4 separate regions of the Homo sapiens genome follow, and all the other regions are linked to region 2. The links are contacts of gene promoters, found by promoter capture Hi-C in human tissues and cell types (Jung and others, 2019). All regions are on one chromosome and are shown on one strand. Each heading gives the region's core, a stretch centred on a gene start or on the middle of the fragment in contact. The rest is flanking DNA. Distances are from core to core; before and after follow the strand shown. Region 1 overlaps LOC105372284 (a long non-coding RNA gene). Region 2 holds the start of PALM3 (paralemmin 3). Region 3 overlaps ADGRE5 (adhesion G protein-coupled receptor E5). Region 4 holds the start of ZSWIM4 (zinc finger SWIM-type containing 4).

Region 1 (3,377 bases), core at 53-2,552, 350 kb after region 2:
AAGGGTTTAGTGGGTGAAAAATGACTAAGAGGAAACATCAAGCATAGGGGGATTCTTTTTTATTTTTAATAGAGACAGGGTCTTACTATGTTGCCCAGGCTGCTCTTGAACTCCTGGCCTCCAGCAATCTTCCTGCTTTTCCCTCCTAAAGTGTTGGGATTACAGGCATGAGCCACTGCACTCGGCAGATAGGGGGATTCTTGCCAAACCATTGTTGTAGACAATGTTTGTGTCTCCTTCAAATTCATGTTTTTGGTTTTTTTTTTTTTAATTTTATGGAGTCTCGCCCTGTTGCCCAGGCTGGAGTGCAGTGGCATGATTCTCAGCTTACTGCAACTTCCGCTTTCCGGGTTCAAGTGATTCTCCTGCCTCAGCCTCCCAAGTAGCTGGAATTACAGGCCCATGTCACCACGCCTAGCTAATTTTTGTAGTTTTAGTAGAGACAGGTTTTTGCCATGTTGGCCAGGCTGGTCTTGGACTCTTGACCTCAGGTGATCCACCTGCCGTGGCCTCCCAAAATGCTGAGATTACAGGCGTGAGCTACTGTGCCAGGCCCAAATTCATGTATTGAAACCTAATCCTCAATGTGATGGTGTTGGAGGCAGGGCCTTTGGGAGGTGATAAAGTTATGGGACTGGAGCCCTCAGGAATGGGATTAATGCCTCTATCAAACAGATCCCAGAGAGGTCCCTCAACCCTTCCACCATGTGGGGGCACAATGAAAAAATGGTCATCTATGAACCAAGAAGCAGATTCTCAGCAGGCACTGAATGCGCTGGTGCCTTGCTCTTGGACTTCCCAGCCACTAGAATTGTGGGAAATGAATTTCTGTTGCTTTTAAGCCACTCAATCTATGTTATTTTGTTAGAGTAGCCCAAATGGATTAAGATGCTAACTTAAGGATTCTTGCTGAAGGCTGGCCAGGGTGATAAAATATTAAGGATTGGGGTATAATTTAGCAGGATTCTTTGCCAAGACTGACAGAAGCAGGCTAAGGACAGGATCCAAGAATGATGCCTAGTTGAAAAGAGGAGTCATGGGTGGCTCATGCCTGCAGTCCTAGCACTTGGGGAGGCTAGTGTGAAGCTTGCTTGAGCCCTAGGAGTTCAAGACCAGCCTGGGAAAAATAGAGAGACCCCCATCTCTACCAAAAATAAAAATAAAAATAAAAAAATTAGGCGGGCATAGTAGTGCATGCCTGTGGTCCCAGCTACTCAAGAGGCTGAGCCAAGAGGATCGCTTCAGCTCTGGTGGTCGAGGTTACAGTGAGCGCTGTGATCACTGCTGCACTCTAGCCTGGGTGACAGAGTGAGACCTTGTTTCCCAAAAAAAAAGAAAGAAAGAAAAAGAGAGTCTTTATCAATGCTTTCATGGCCTCTTTTTTTTTTTTTTTTTTTTTTTGAGACAAGGTCTCACTTTGTTGCCCAGGCTGGAGTGCAGTGGCACGATCTCACCTCACTGCAACCTCTGCCTCTCAGGTTCAAGCAATTCTCCTGCCTCAGCCTCCCAAGTAGCTGGGACTACAAGTGTGCACCACCACACCCAGATAATTTTTGTATTTTTTTTTTTTTGAGACGGAGTCTCGCTCTGTTGCCCAGGCTGGAGTGCACTGGCGTGATCTCAGCTCACTGCAAGCTCTGCCTCCCGGGTTCACACCATTCTCCTGCCTCACCCTTCCGAGTAGCTGGGACTACAGGCGCCCGCCATCATGCCCGGCTATTTTTTTTTGTATTTTTAGTAGCGACGGGGTTTCACCGTGTTAGCCAGGATGGTCTCAATCTCCTGACCTCGTGATCCACCCGCCTTGGCCTCCCAAAGTGCTGGGATTACAGGCACCCGCCACCACGCCCGGCTAGTTTTTTCTGTATTTTTAGTAGAGTTGGGGTTTCACCATGTTGGCCAGGCTTGTCTCAAACTCCTGACCTCAAGTGGTCTGCCTGCCTCAACCCTCGAAAGTGCTAGTATTATAGGTGTGAGCCACAGTGCCCGGCCCTTTCATGGCCTCTTAACTGGAATTTTTGCATCATATCTCTCTTCCAATCCTCCACATACTACAGATGGATCTTCCTGAGGTGCAAATCTAATCAGATCATCTCCCTCTTTAGACAGGCTTGAATCAGATCTGGACTACATCTTCATTCTCATTTTTTGACACAAGTCATGCTCACTGTATGGGCCAGCCACACTGAACTATGGGCTATGTCGTTCATGCCCATGGGCCTCTGCATAACCTTTTCAACAGCCTTCACTTTCTCTTAACTGTCAGGTCAAGCATCACTTCTTTCTGGAAGTGTTTTCCAATCCTCCGAGTTAGGTCCACCCACTTCTATGAATTAATAGCATTTATCACAATGTCGTGATTGTTAGGTTTCTCCTCTAGGAGAAGTATAGCACAGTGCTGAGAGCCTAATGCCAGAGCCAATCTGGATTTGAATTCTGACTTTACTCCTTACTGGCCATTCACATAACCTGTGTGGTTCTGTTTACTTGGGTCTGCCACATAATGAATGCAGTATAAATGCTACTTATCATAGCAGTCAGCTATTGCTGCACAAGAAAAGAGACCCCAAAACTCAGTATCTTGAAATAACAATACCTTAAGCTTTTTTTCGTTTTTCATACAGGCATTCAAAGCTATGCCTTTTCCTCTCAGCACTGCTTTAGCTGCATCCCACAGCATTTTTTCAGGTATGTTCATTAGCATTCAGTTCAAAATATTTTCTTATTTCCACTGTGATTTTTTTTTTCTCTGACTTAGGAGTTATTTAGGGATGTGTGGTTAAATTTCCAAACAATTGTAAATTTCTAGTTATCTTTTTTGTTGTTGACTTCTAGTTTAATTCCACTGTGCTCATACTTTGTAGGATCTCAGTTCTACAAAATTTGTTGAGACTTGCTTGACAGCCCAGCATATGGGCTATTGTGATGGCTATTCCAAAAGTAGCAATCATTTATTTTTGCCCACATGTCTGAGGACTTGGCTGATGTGGGTGGGGACCAGCTGGACAGCTTTGATGCATGCTTTGGCCTCTCTCTGCAGGTTGGGTTTAGATCAATTCTGCATGTATTCATTCTTTTTTTTTTTTTCAGACATAGTCTCACTCTGCTGCCCAGGCTGGAGTGCGGTGGTGTGATCTCGGCTGACTGCAACCTCTGCCTCCTGGATTCAAGTGGTTCTCCCGCCTCAGCCTCCTGAGTAGCTGGGATTACAGGCACCTGCCACCACGCCCGACTTTTTTTTTTTTTTTTTTTTTGTAGAGATGGGGTTTCTCCATGTTGGCCAGGCTGGTCTGACACTCCTGACCTCAGGCGATCCGCCCACCTTGGCCTCCAAAAGTGCTGGGATTACAGGCGTGAGCCACTGTGCCTGGCTGGCA
Region 2 (3,729 bases), core at 796-3,295:
CGTGATGCTGAGTGAAAGAAGCCAAACACAAAAGACCACATAGTGTGTGAGTCTTTTGTTTGTTTGTTTGTTGAGACCGAGTTTCGCTCTTGTTGCCCAGGCTGGAGTGCAATGGCGTGATCTCGGCTCATCGCAACCTCCGCCTCCCGGGTTCAAGTGATTCTCCTGCCTCAGCCTCCCAAGTAGCTGAGATTACAGGTATGCACCACCATGCCTGGCTAATTTTGTATTTTTAGTAGAGATAGGGTTTCTCCATGTTGGTCAGGCTGGTCTTGAACTCCTGACCTCAGGTAATCCGCCCACCTCAGCCTCCCAAAATGCTGGGATTACAGGCATGAGCCACTGCGCCCGGCCTGTGAGTCCATTTTTATAGAACTATCCAGAATAGTCCGGGCACAGTGGCTGACGCCTGTAATCCCAGCAGTTTGGGAGGCCAAGGAGGATGGATCACCTGAGGTCAGAAGTTCAAGACCAGCCTGGCCAACATGGTGAAACCCTGTCTCTACAAGAATACAAAAATTAGCTGGGCGTGATGGCGGGTGCCTGTAATCCCAGCTACTTGGGAGGCTGAGGCAGGAAAATTGCTTGAACCCAGCAGGTGGAGGTTGCAGTGAGCCAAGATTGTGCCCATCGCACTCTAGCCTGGGCGATAGAGTGAGGCTCCATCTAAAAAAACAAACAAACAAAAAAGAAAAACAAAAAGTCCAGAATAGGCAAATCCATAGAGATGGACACAGATTGGTGGTTGCCAGGCACGGGAGGCAGGGGAATGAGTAGTGATCACTTCCTTTTGGGTTGATGAAAATATTCTGAACCAGTGGTGAGGATTGCATAATATTGTGAACATACTAAATGCCACTAATGGTAAATTTTGTTATGTGTATTTTACCACGATCAAAAAGTAATTTTTTTTTTTCAGACGGAGTCTTGCTCCGTCACCCAGGCTGGAGTGCAGTGGCATGATCTCAGCTCCCTGCAATCTCCGCCTCCTGGGTACAAGCAATTCTCCTGCCTCAACCTCCCGAGTAGCTAGGACTACAGGTGTGCCACCACACCTGGCTAATGTGTATCTTTAGCAGAGGCAGGCTTTCTCCATGTTGGCCAGGCTGGTCTCAAACTCCTGACCTCGTGATCCGCCCACCTCGGCCTCCCAAAGTGCTGGGATTACAGGCGTGAGCCACCGTGCCTGGCTCAAAAAGTAATTTTTTTTTTTTTAGACAGAGTTTTGCTCTTGTTGCCCAGGCTGGAGTGCAATGGTGCGATCTTGGCTAACTGCAACCTCTGCCACCTGGGTTCAAGTGATTCTTCTGCCTCAGCCTCCCAAGTAGCGGAGGTTACAGGCATGCACCACCATGCCCGGCTAAGTTTTTTTTTGTATTTAGCAGAGACGGGGTTTCACCATGTTGGTCAGACCAGTCTCGAACTCCGCCCTCAGGTGATCCACCCACCTGGGCCTCCCAAAGTGCTAGGATTACACATATGCACCACTGTGCCTGTTCTTAAAAAATAATTTTAAAAAATGTTATCTGCCAGATGTGGTGGCTCATGCCTGTAATCCCAGCACTTTGAGAAGCCGAGGAGGGAGGATTGTTTGCGCCCCGGAGTCTGAAACTGCAGTGAGCTATGATCGCACTACTACATTTTAGCCTGGGCAACAGAGTGAGACCCCCATCTCTAAAAAAATAAAACAGTCTCCAGCCTGTGTGCTATGCAATGGTGCTCTCCTGTGGGTGAGTCTTGGCAGGCAGTCAGACTCAAGATGATTGGGGTGCCAAGTAGAAATGCCATTCTCTGGTGGCAGGGGGAGTCACCGACTCAGTACTCTCACCCCCACGCTTGACCACGCGTGTGTGAAAGTGTTTTCCGGGAGGCAGCTGAGTGCAACAAAGAGGCCAGAGGCTGGTGAATAATTTATCAGGACAGCTGATAGTACCTCCCCAGAACTGCCCTCCAGCCCCCAGCCCCCCTCTCTGGTGTGCCTACCGCCTCCCTGGCCCAAACCCGCTGGACCTGCTCTCCCGGTGCCCGCCCGCAGCCCCCCCCCACTCCAGGCAGCCAAGTCACAGCCTCCGGGGCACCTTCAGGCAAGCGGGTGGTGGGTCCAGAACTCGGAGACCAGAAAGTGAACTTCTGGGCAGAGATGGCCCTGCAGAGCCAGGTGTGGTCTCTGGCCACACCCATGTAAGTGTCTGGGGGGTCAGGGGGGCTGGTGGGCAGGGCCTTGGGAGGGGCTCATGGGGGATGCTGGCCTTGTCTGGGAGCCGAGAGCTCCAGTGGTCTCTCCTAAGGGGACCCGGGGAGTGGAGGGGTTGGCTAGCCAACCCCATAGGCTCATCAGTGTCACCCTTCCTTAAAGAGTCAAGGGGTGGGAGAGAGATATAGGCTCCCCCTGCCCCTTCCTCTTCGGGGATTTTCCGCTGCCAGGGCTGAGAACCCAAAGTCCAGCCAGGGGGTGGGGCTACTGCTGTGGTGCAGGGAGTGGGGAAGGTCAGGGTCACTGGGTTCCACGTTTTGCCCCTAAAGTCAGTGTCCAAGGTGGGAGAAAAGGCTTGAGATCCAACAGAAGTTAAAAGCTCCCAGCCTGAGAAAGACAATGGCAACATTGCAAGGATGACCTCCTTCATGAAATGGCCACCAACTCTTGCGGGTGGCCAGAAGCCCAGGCCGCCTACGTTGTTCTTCCAGAGTTAGTTAGAGATAAGCAAGATGGAATGGGGTGTGTGAAGTCTTTTCATAGCTGAGGGGTGAGAGTTTTTTAAGGTTAAAAGGGTAGAGGGGGCTTCAGAGGTTTGGAAAGAGTTTTGGAAAAGGGGCTTCCCCCCACACTAGGGACCCCAATTCGGTTCCTCACCCTTCTAGGTCCTCCATTGCATTATTCACCAACTACAAACCTGGTTGCTTAGCAATGGGAACCCGATCCCCCCCAGCAAGGAAGAGGCAGGGAGATTACATCTTGGGGGTGGTACAGGAGACCACGGGACTTCAGCCCTCCCCCAGGGGCAAACCTATAAGCACAGAATCTGGGCTTCCTTTGGGATATCTTGCAAAGCATGACTTCGTGGCCGGGCACGGTGGCTCACGCCTGTAATCCCAGCACTTTGGGAGGCCGAGGCGGGCAGATCACCTGAGGTCAGGAGTTCGAGACCAGCCTGGCCAGTATGGTGAAACCCCATCTGTACTAAAAATACAAAAATTAGCCGGGCTTGGTGGTGCACGCCTGTAATCTCAGCTACTCAGGAGGCTGAGGCAGGAGAATCACTTGAACCCAGGAAGCGGGGGTTGCAGTGAGCTGAGATTGAGCCATTGCACTCCAGCCTGGGTGACAGAGCGAGACTCCGACTCAAAAAAAGAAAGAGCATGACTTCAATTCCTTGCCCCAAACAGCATTCAGGGTCTCCAGGCTGCTCTCTTAGCTACCTTGATGGGGATTCCTAGACCTGCACCCCCACCCCCCTCGCCAGCTGTGTTCTCAGTATTTTGGATCTGATAGCTTCAAGTTCTGATCTTGGCTCCATGACCTTGGACACTGCTGCCACTTCTCAGAACCTCAGTTTTCCCATCCATAAAATGGACACATTCATATAGCTTACCTCCTAGAGTCGTTGGGAGGATTCAGTGAATTACATTGCACCTGGCACGTGTTACGGGCTAGCTAATGGTTGGCTGATTTTGTTCTTAGCTGGAATGTCAACTCAGCAAAGAGTTGACTCCACTGTGTCATGATAGAGG
Region 3 (3,712 bases), core at 913-3,412, 320 kb before region 2:
GCTGGCACAAGCCGCCAGGCCCTGCCTGCCATCTTCATTTCTTTAGGTAAAAATGAAGGCGTGGTCAGGCACAGTGGCTCATGCCTGTAATCCCAGCACTTTGGGAGGCCGAGGCGGGTGGATCACTTGAGATCGGGAGTTCGAGACCAGCCTGCCTAATATGGTGAAACCCCCTCTCTACTGAAAATACAAAAAATTAGCTGGGCGTGGTGGTGGGTGCCTGTTATCCCAGCTACTTGGGAGACTGAGGCTTGAGAATCGCTTGAACTAAGGAGGCAGAGTTGCAGCAAGCCAAGATCACGCCACTGCACTCCAGCCTGAGTGACAGAGCAAGACTCCGTCTCAGAAAAAAAAAAAAAAAAATGACGGTGTTGGATCACCCAGGCTCTGAGATGCCCTGGACCTCCACGCTTCCTCAGGGACACAGGTGCACACACACCACACCCACAACTGCCACTGGCCCTGGCGGTCTGTCCTGGAACCCAGTGGTGATATTTCACCCCCGGGCCCCCCTCCCACAGGAAGACGCTGTAGCCGCCTGTTGGGGTGCACGTGGAGTGGCGGTTCCCAGCACTCAGGGGGTTCCCCCTCCCAAGGCATGTTCTGGGGGACCCTCCTCAGGTCACCAGGGGATTCAGAGATGGGGACCTAGGGATCTCCTTGCTGTTCACCAGAGAGATAGAGACAAAGAAGCAGGGGTGGAGAGAAAATAGAGATTAGAGAGAGAGAGAGACAGACAGAGAGAGAGAAAGAGTCAGAAAGAAAGAGAGACACAGAAAGAGAGACAGAGACACAAAGAGACAGAGAGACAGAAGGTGGGGGGCTGTGCTTGGTGGTTCACGCCTGTAATCCCAGCACTTTGGGAGGCCGAGGCAGATGGATCACCTGAGGCCAGGAGTGTGAGACCAGCCTGGCCAACATAGTGAAACCCCATCTCTACTAAAAATACAAAAAATTAGCCGGGCATGGTGGCACACGCCTGTAATCCCAGCTATTTGGGAGGTGGAGGCAGGAGAATCGCTTGAACACAGAAGGCAGAGGTTGCAGTGAGCTGAGATCCCGCCACTGCACGCCAGCCTGGGCAACAGAGCAAGACTCTCAAAAAAAAAAAAAAAAAAAAAAGAGCAAGAGTCTCAAAAAAAAAAAAAAGAAAGAAAAGAAAAGAACAAAGAGAGAGAGAGACAGAGAGATAGAGGGACAGAGACGGAGACAGAGAGGAGAAAGGAGACAAGCTGGAGAGAGAGAGGGAGACAGAGAGGAGAAAGAAGACAGCTAGAGAAATATAAGACAGAGGAGACAGAGACACGGAGAGATAGAGACAGACAGAGAGACAGAAATTACATGGTGATAGAGAGAGGTGGAGAGAGAAACAAGGGGCCCATAAAGAGCAGAAGGGGAAACAGGAGGAGATGGGACAGAGAGAACAGAGAGACAGAGAGATAAACAGTGAGGAAGAAAGAAAACCATGAGAAAGGAGGGTGGATGGAAACAGAGGGGAAGGGCAGGGGAACGGAGGGCGTTGGGATATGAGCGGCAGGTGGGGCCTGGGGCGGGCTGGGAGGGGACGTCCAGTCCCTGCCGATCTGGGAATACTGGGGACCCCAATAATCCAGGGAGACCTGAAGGGGGGTGTCGGGCAGAGGGATGGGGACCAGGACAACGGCTGGGCATGAGTCACTTCCTGGGCCTAAGGGAAGGAATGACTCACCACTCATTTGCCCCAATTCAACCCTGGAGGGGCTTCCAGGGGAATTTTGGGGTCTGTTATGAGCACAGCTTCAGAGGGCGGGTGTTTGGGGTGCAGATTGGAGGTCCCCGGACCACTCAGCCACTGTGTTCAAATTTAGTACCCCTTAGGTGGGTGGAAGGCAGAGATCCCCACTCCCACCTCCACACTCCTTCCAGCTGGGTTAAACCAAGGCCGAAACCCCCCAGCCCAAGCCCGTACTCCCCACTTCTGTCAGGATTCCCCTCTTCCTCCTCTCTGGCCACAAGGCTTGGCTAGTTCCTCCCTCGGCCAGAACCCAGTTCCTCTTTGCAGAACAGACCACAAAATGACCTCCCCTGGCAGGACAGGATCTAGGCAGATTCATCTCTAACTCCCAAAGCCCCAGGTAACTCCTTTAAAGCTCAGAACCACTCTAGGAGGCAGGGGCTGTGTTGATGCCCATTCTACAGATAGAGAAACTGAGGCTTGGAGCCCAGAAAAGGATCAGGAGGAATCCAATAAACAGAAGAGGTTGGGGAAGGAGGAATTGAGGGATTGAGGTCCTCAGGGCCCTGGGCAGGGTTCCTTTGTGCCCCATCCCCTCTGCATGGGCTGAGCTGGGTTCTCTACTCCCACCGTGAGGCTACAGGGCCCAGCTGCCTCCATCTGGGGCCTTGGAAGTTGCCCAAACAGAAGCCGGGAGAGAAGCTGCTGTTCTGGTTTGAGTTCCTTCTGGTTTGCATTCTCTGGGCTGAGCCCTAAGTAGTCAGTTTCCTGCATTGAGATCCTGGGGTGGGGGGTGGTGGGGCAGTCACCCCTTCTTTAGGCTTCCTCCTAAGGACCCCGAGACAATTCCCCAGACCCACTAGTGTCTTACCAGAATTTAATAATCATCATAATTTATTATTTATTCATTTATTTTGAGACAGGGTCTCACTGTCACCCAGGCTGGAGTGCAGTGGCGTGATCTCAGCTCACTGCAACCTCCACCTCCCAGGTTCAAGAGACTCTCCTACCTCAGGCTCCCGAGTAGCTGGGATTACAGGCGCCCGCCACCACACCCAGGTAATTTTTGTATTTTTAGTAAAGACAGAGTTTCACCATGTTGGCCAGGCTGGTCTCGAACTCCTGACCTCTGGTGATCTGCTGGCCTGGGCCTACCAAAGTGCTGGGATTACAGGTGTGAGCCACTGCACCCGGCCTTATTATTAATTTATTTTTTGAGATAGGATCTTGCTCTGTCACCCAGGCTGGAGTGCAGTGGTGCAAACACAGCTCACTGCAGCTTCAACCTCCTGGGCTCAAGGGATCCTCCCACCTCAGCCTCCTGAGCCACTAGGACTACAGGCGCACACCACCAAGCCCGACTAATTAAAAAAAATTTTTTTTGGCTGGGCGCGGTGGCTCATGCCTGTAATCCCAGCACTTTGGGAGGCGGAGGCGGGTGAATCACCTGAGGTCAGGAGTTTGAGACCAGCCTGGCCATCATGGTGAAACCCCGTCTCTACTAAAAATACAAACACAAAAACTAAAACAAAAAACTAGCCGGGCATGGTGGCAGGCACCTATAATCCCAGCTACTCGGGGTGGATGGGGGCGAGGCAGGAGAATCGCTTGAACCCAGGAGGCGGAGGTTGCAGTGAGCCGAGATTGCACCATTGCACTCCAGCCTGAGCGACAAGAGCGAGACTTTGTCTCAAAAAAAAAAAAAAAAATTTGTTTTTGGTAGAGACAACGTCTCGATGTGTTGCCCAGGCTAGTCTCCAGTCCCTGGGCTCAAGAGATCCACCTGCCTCGGCCTCTCAAAGTGCTGGGATTGCAGGTGTGAGCCACTGTGCCCAGCCAACACTTTTAAAATGCTGTTTACCTAATTCTTACTGTGAACCAGGAATAGTTTGTGTCCTAACTCACTCATCCCTTAAAACAATCTAAGACGGAGACGGGTTGTGCTCCATTTTATAGATGAGAAAAGTGAGGCGCAGAGGCTCTCTGACTTGGCCCTGG
Region 4 (3,468 bases), core at 1-2,500, 270 kb after region 2:
ACAGAAGAGAGCTTCTAGGTGCACCTGTCCAGGGACCACCACCCAGGCTCCGCCCCTGCTGTTTTCCTATGGGAAGAGATAGGATAGGTCAGGGGGATGAGGTGGGGAGGAGGAGGGACCCTGGCATTTCAGTAATCCCTGCGGCAAGCCAGGAGAAGACGGGCAGCCCCGAAAGAGGAATCTGGAGGAGTAGAGAGGGGTCCCCAAGGAACAGGTGGAATCTGGAGGCTCGAGGGCAGGAATGAATGGGGAAAAAAGGGGTGTCTTGAGCTGGAATCTGGAGAGATGGGGGAGTTATTTACTTGGGGTGTACGGTAGGGATCTGGAGAGCAGGAATGGGGTAGTGTGAGTCTCTAGAGGCTACGATGGAGGGAGACAGGGTGTCCCCAAGCGGGGGGCCGAAGAGAGGATTGAAGACTGAATGGGGTGCCCTGATTGGCGAATAAAGATGCGGTAGGAAAAGAGGGGTACCGTTGGGGGATAAGGTGGGAAAAGAGGGGTACCGTTGGGGGATAAGGTGGGAAAAGAGGGGTACCGTTGGGGGATAAGGCGGGAAAAGAGGGGTGCCCAGGGTTGTAGGCGGGCCATGGGGGCCAGATCTCAGAGATCTGGGGTTGGTAGGAGAAGAAGGAAGTGTCCTGATTTGGGATCTGGGGCGCTGAGGGGCAGAGATGGCAGAGAAGGGATGGGGGTGGGTTACTGGGTTTGAAGGACAGAAACAGGAGGATGAGGGGGTGTTTCCAGGCAGGGTTAAGGGTCCTGGGGGTGGAATCTCAGGGGGTGTCTCTGATTGGGTTAGCTCTGGAGTCTGGGGATTGTGGGGGAGGAGAAGACAGGTGGGGAAGGTGCTGGGGGTGCGTCCCTGCCCCCGCCCCCTTCCCCCGCGGTCACCTGCTCGAAGGCCCAGCTCTCGGCTACCCGCTTGGCGCTGAGGTCCAGCAGCGCCTCGGGCCGGCCCCGGCCACGCGCGGCCCCGGCCCCGGCATCGCGCTCCTCGGGTCCCGCGGGGCAGCCCCGGCTCCGCTTGGCCGCGGGGGGTTCCATCCGGCCCGGCCGGGGCCAGGGCCGGGGCGGGGCCTCTTTGGGGGGCTCGGTCCGATGCCCGCTCCGCTTCGCCGGCTCCCGCGCCCCCTGCCCTCCTTCCCGTCCGTCCTCTGCGCTCGGCCGCCCCGGGACCCCTACCGCACCCACCCCCGACCCGCGCCGGGCCGGCAGGGTGATGCGGCCCCTTTAAGACTCTTCACAACAATGAAGCTGCTTCAGCCGCCGCTTTAGCTCCGCCGTCGTCCCGCCCCCACCGCCTGTCCCTATTGGCCCCCCCTCGGCCTCCTCGGCCCTCCCCCGCCATTGGCTGCGCCGCCAGACCCGTGTCCAAGCCTCGCTGCTCACTCGATGACTGCGATGCCAGTCTTTTCTTGTTTACCCAACCAGAGCGCACAGCGAGGGGCGCTGTCAATCACGGGGCGCCAGAGGCCAATCAGAGTGGGAGGACCCCCGCGGCCCAGGCCTTATGCGGAGTTTCGGGGCGGGCCCGGGGTTCATTCACAACATTCCTCCCCCGCCTCTCTTGGGCTGGACTGCGCGCCCCAGGCTTCTGGGGCTGCGCCCACACACGGCTTTGTTTACTGAGGGTCGCTTCCGGGCGCCGCGAGGGGACAATCAACATAGCCCGGCCGGTGAGCGAGACAGAGCAGCGGGATCCCTTGGCAGTGGCTCAGCCCCTCGTCCCTCCCAGCTGTGCGACCCGAGAAACTCACTCAACCTCTCTGGGCACCGGGTCAAGTTTTGGTTCTTGTGGGGGCGGAGGGGTCGCAGGCTCACTGAGGGAGCTCATGCGGGCCGCGGACCCCCTCTCCAGAAACAAAGCTCGGTTAGGGGGTTCATAGGTCATCCCTTGAGCCTCAAAACTAGTATAGTACCCCGCCCCTCCTTTCCATGCCCTAGATACTATCTTGGGTCATATGAAATTGCTAATTTTTTTTTACCATTTTTGGCCTGTTAAAATGGCAATTCCATGAGGTTCACCCTAACACTTAATCAAACCCCAGCACCTCTGAGCATTTTTTCTGACTCAGCTTGTGTAGGCCACCGTCTCTGGCCTGGAAGCTGGCCATGGCTTCCATCACCCGTTCCCGTCCCGGCTCCTTGCCAATGTCCTCAGAGGACCCTGCATTTTTCCTTCCTCATACTTCTCACCATTACCATTTATTTATCTGTTTCGGCGGTTTTTTTTTTTTTTTTTTTTTTTTTTTTTACGGAGTTTCACTCTTGTCGTCCAGGCTGGGGTGCAGTGGTGCGATCTCGGCTCACTGCAACCTGCGCCTCCCGGGGTCAAGTGATTCTCCTGCCTCAGCCTCCCGAATAGCTGAAATTATAGGCGCCCACCACCACGCCCGGCTAATTTTTGTATTTTTGGTAGAGACGGAGTTTTGCCATGTTGGCCAGGCTGGTCTTGAACTCCTGACCTCAAGTGATCCACCTTTGGTAGTTGCTTAATTTCAATCTCTCCCTCTCCACTGTGAGCCTCAGGAGGCAGGAGTTTGTCCCATCTGTGCTTTACTGTACCGGCAGCACCTGGAAGGTAGGCGCTTAACCTAGAACTTGTTGAATGTACCAACCAACACATGCTTTGCCTCCATTCAGTTAAATGATAGGCACAGCAGAAAAAAAAAAAAAACAGTGATTATCCACTCATCCATATGGAAGCCCTAGCTTTTTCTTGGAGAAACTTCGAGTCTCACAGCTGCACCCTCTGGCCAGTCTTCACCCACTCTCCCTGCCACCCCCTCAATTAGTTAAACTCCCCTGCAGACCTGCACTGTCCAGTATGGTCACCAATGGCCACAAGTGGTCTCTGAGCCCTTGAAATGGGACTGGCTGAAATTAGGTTGTGCTGGAAAGGTAAAATACAGAGTGGATTTTGGAGACATAGCAGGAAGGGAACAAGGAAAAATATTTCTTTTTTTTTTTTTGAGATGGAGTGATCTCAGCTCACTGCAACCTCTGCCTCCCAGGTTCACGTGATTATTCTGCCTCAGCCTCCCAAGTAGCTGGGGCTACAGGCACCCACCGCCACGCCTGACTAACTTTTGCATTTTTAGTAGAGACGGGGTTTCACCATATTGGCAGGCTGGTCTCAAACTCCTGACCTTATGATCTGCCTGCCTTGGCCTCCCAAAGTGCTGGGATTCCAGGCGTGAGCCACCACGCCCGGCCTAAAATATTTCATTAAGAATGTTTTCCATCCTGGCTAACACAGTGAAACCCCTTCTCTACTAAAAATACAAAAAATTAGCCGGGCATGGTGGCAGGCGCCTATAGTCCCAGCTACTAGGGAGGCTAGGGCAGGAGAATGGTGGGAACCCAGGAGGCAGAGGTTGCAGTGAGCCAAGATTGCGCCACTGCACTCCAGCCTGGGGGACAGAGTGAGACTCCAAAAAAAAAAAAAAAAGAATGTTTTGGCCAGGC

The links. The method cuts DNA at HindIII sites, captures the fragments that hold promoters and counts their contacts. A contact is called where the count stands out against the background at its distance.
Region 1: a contact is called between a fragment that was not itself captured here and the fragment with the promoter of PALM3 in region 2, in 1 of the 25 tissues and cell types used here (dorsolateral prefrontal cortex).
Region 3: a contact is called between a fragment that was not itself captured here and the fragment with the promoter of PALM3 in region 2, in 1 of the 25 tissues and cell types used here (spleen).
Region 4: a contact is called between the fragment with the promoter of ZSWIM4 here and the fragment with the promoter of PALM3 in region 2, in 2 of the 25 tissues and cell types used here (dorsolateral prefrontal cortex and spleen).

The regions. Positions count from the first base shown.
Region 1 is chr19:13,713,681-13,717,057 of GRCh38, reverse strand. LOC105372284 (a long non-coding RNA gene) reads left to right here. Exons shown (of 7, transcript XR_001754028.1): 3 at 2,625-2,688. Among named protein-coding and RNA genes, the nearest start is that of YJU2B, 33 kb to the left of the region's middle. The HindIII fragment of the contact is 3,426 bases long and covers 1-3,015 here.
Region 2 is chr19:14,060,392-14,064,120 of GRCh38, reverse strand. It overlaps PALM3 (paralemmin 3), which reads left to right and starts at 2,045. Exons shown (of 7, transcript NM_001145028.2): 1 at 2,045-2,181. The coding sequence starts at 2,141. RefSeq lists an enhancer at 1,550-2,104. The HindIII fragment of the contact is 26,422 bases long and covers 1-3,729 here.
Region 3 is chr19:14,382,421-14,386,132 of GRCh38, reverse strand. The region is part of intron 1 of ADGRE5 (adhesion G protein-coupled receptor E5); the gene reads right to left. Among named protein-coding and RNA genes, the nearest start is that of ADGRE5, 2.8 kb to the right of the region's middle. RefSeq lists a silencer at 3,201-3,340. The HindIII fragment of the contact is 5,608 bases long and covers 1-3,712 here.
Region 4 is chr19:13,793,225-13,796,692 of GRCh38, reverse strand. It overlaps ZSWIM4 (zinc finger SWIM-type containing 4), which reads right to left and starts at 1,250. Exons shown (of 14, transcript NM_001367834.3): 1 at 892-1,250. The coding sequence starts at 1,044. RefSeq lists an enhancer at 587-656 and silencers at 897-1,106, 1,127-1,616. The HindIII fragment of the contact is 5,751 bases long and covers 1-3,468 here.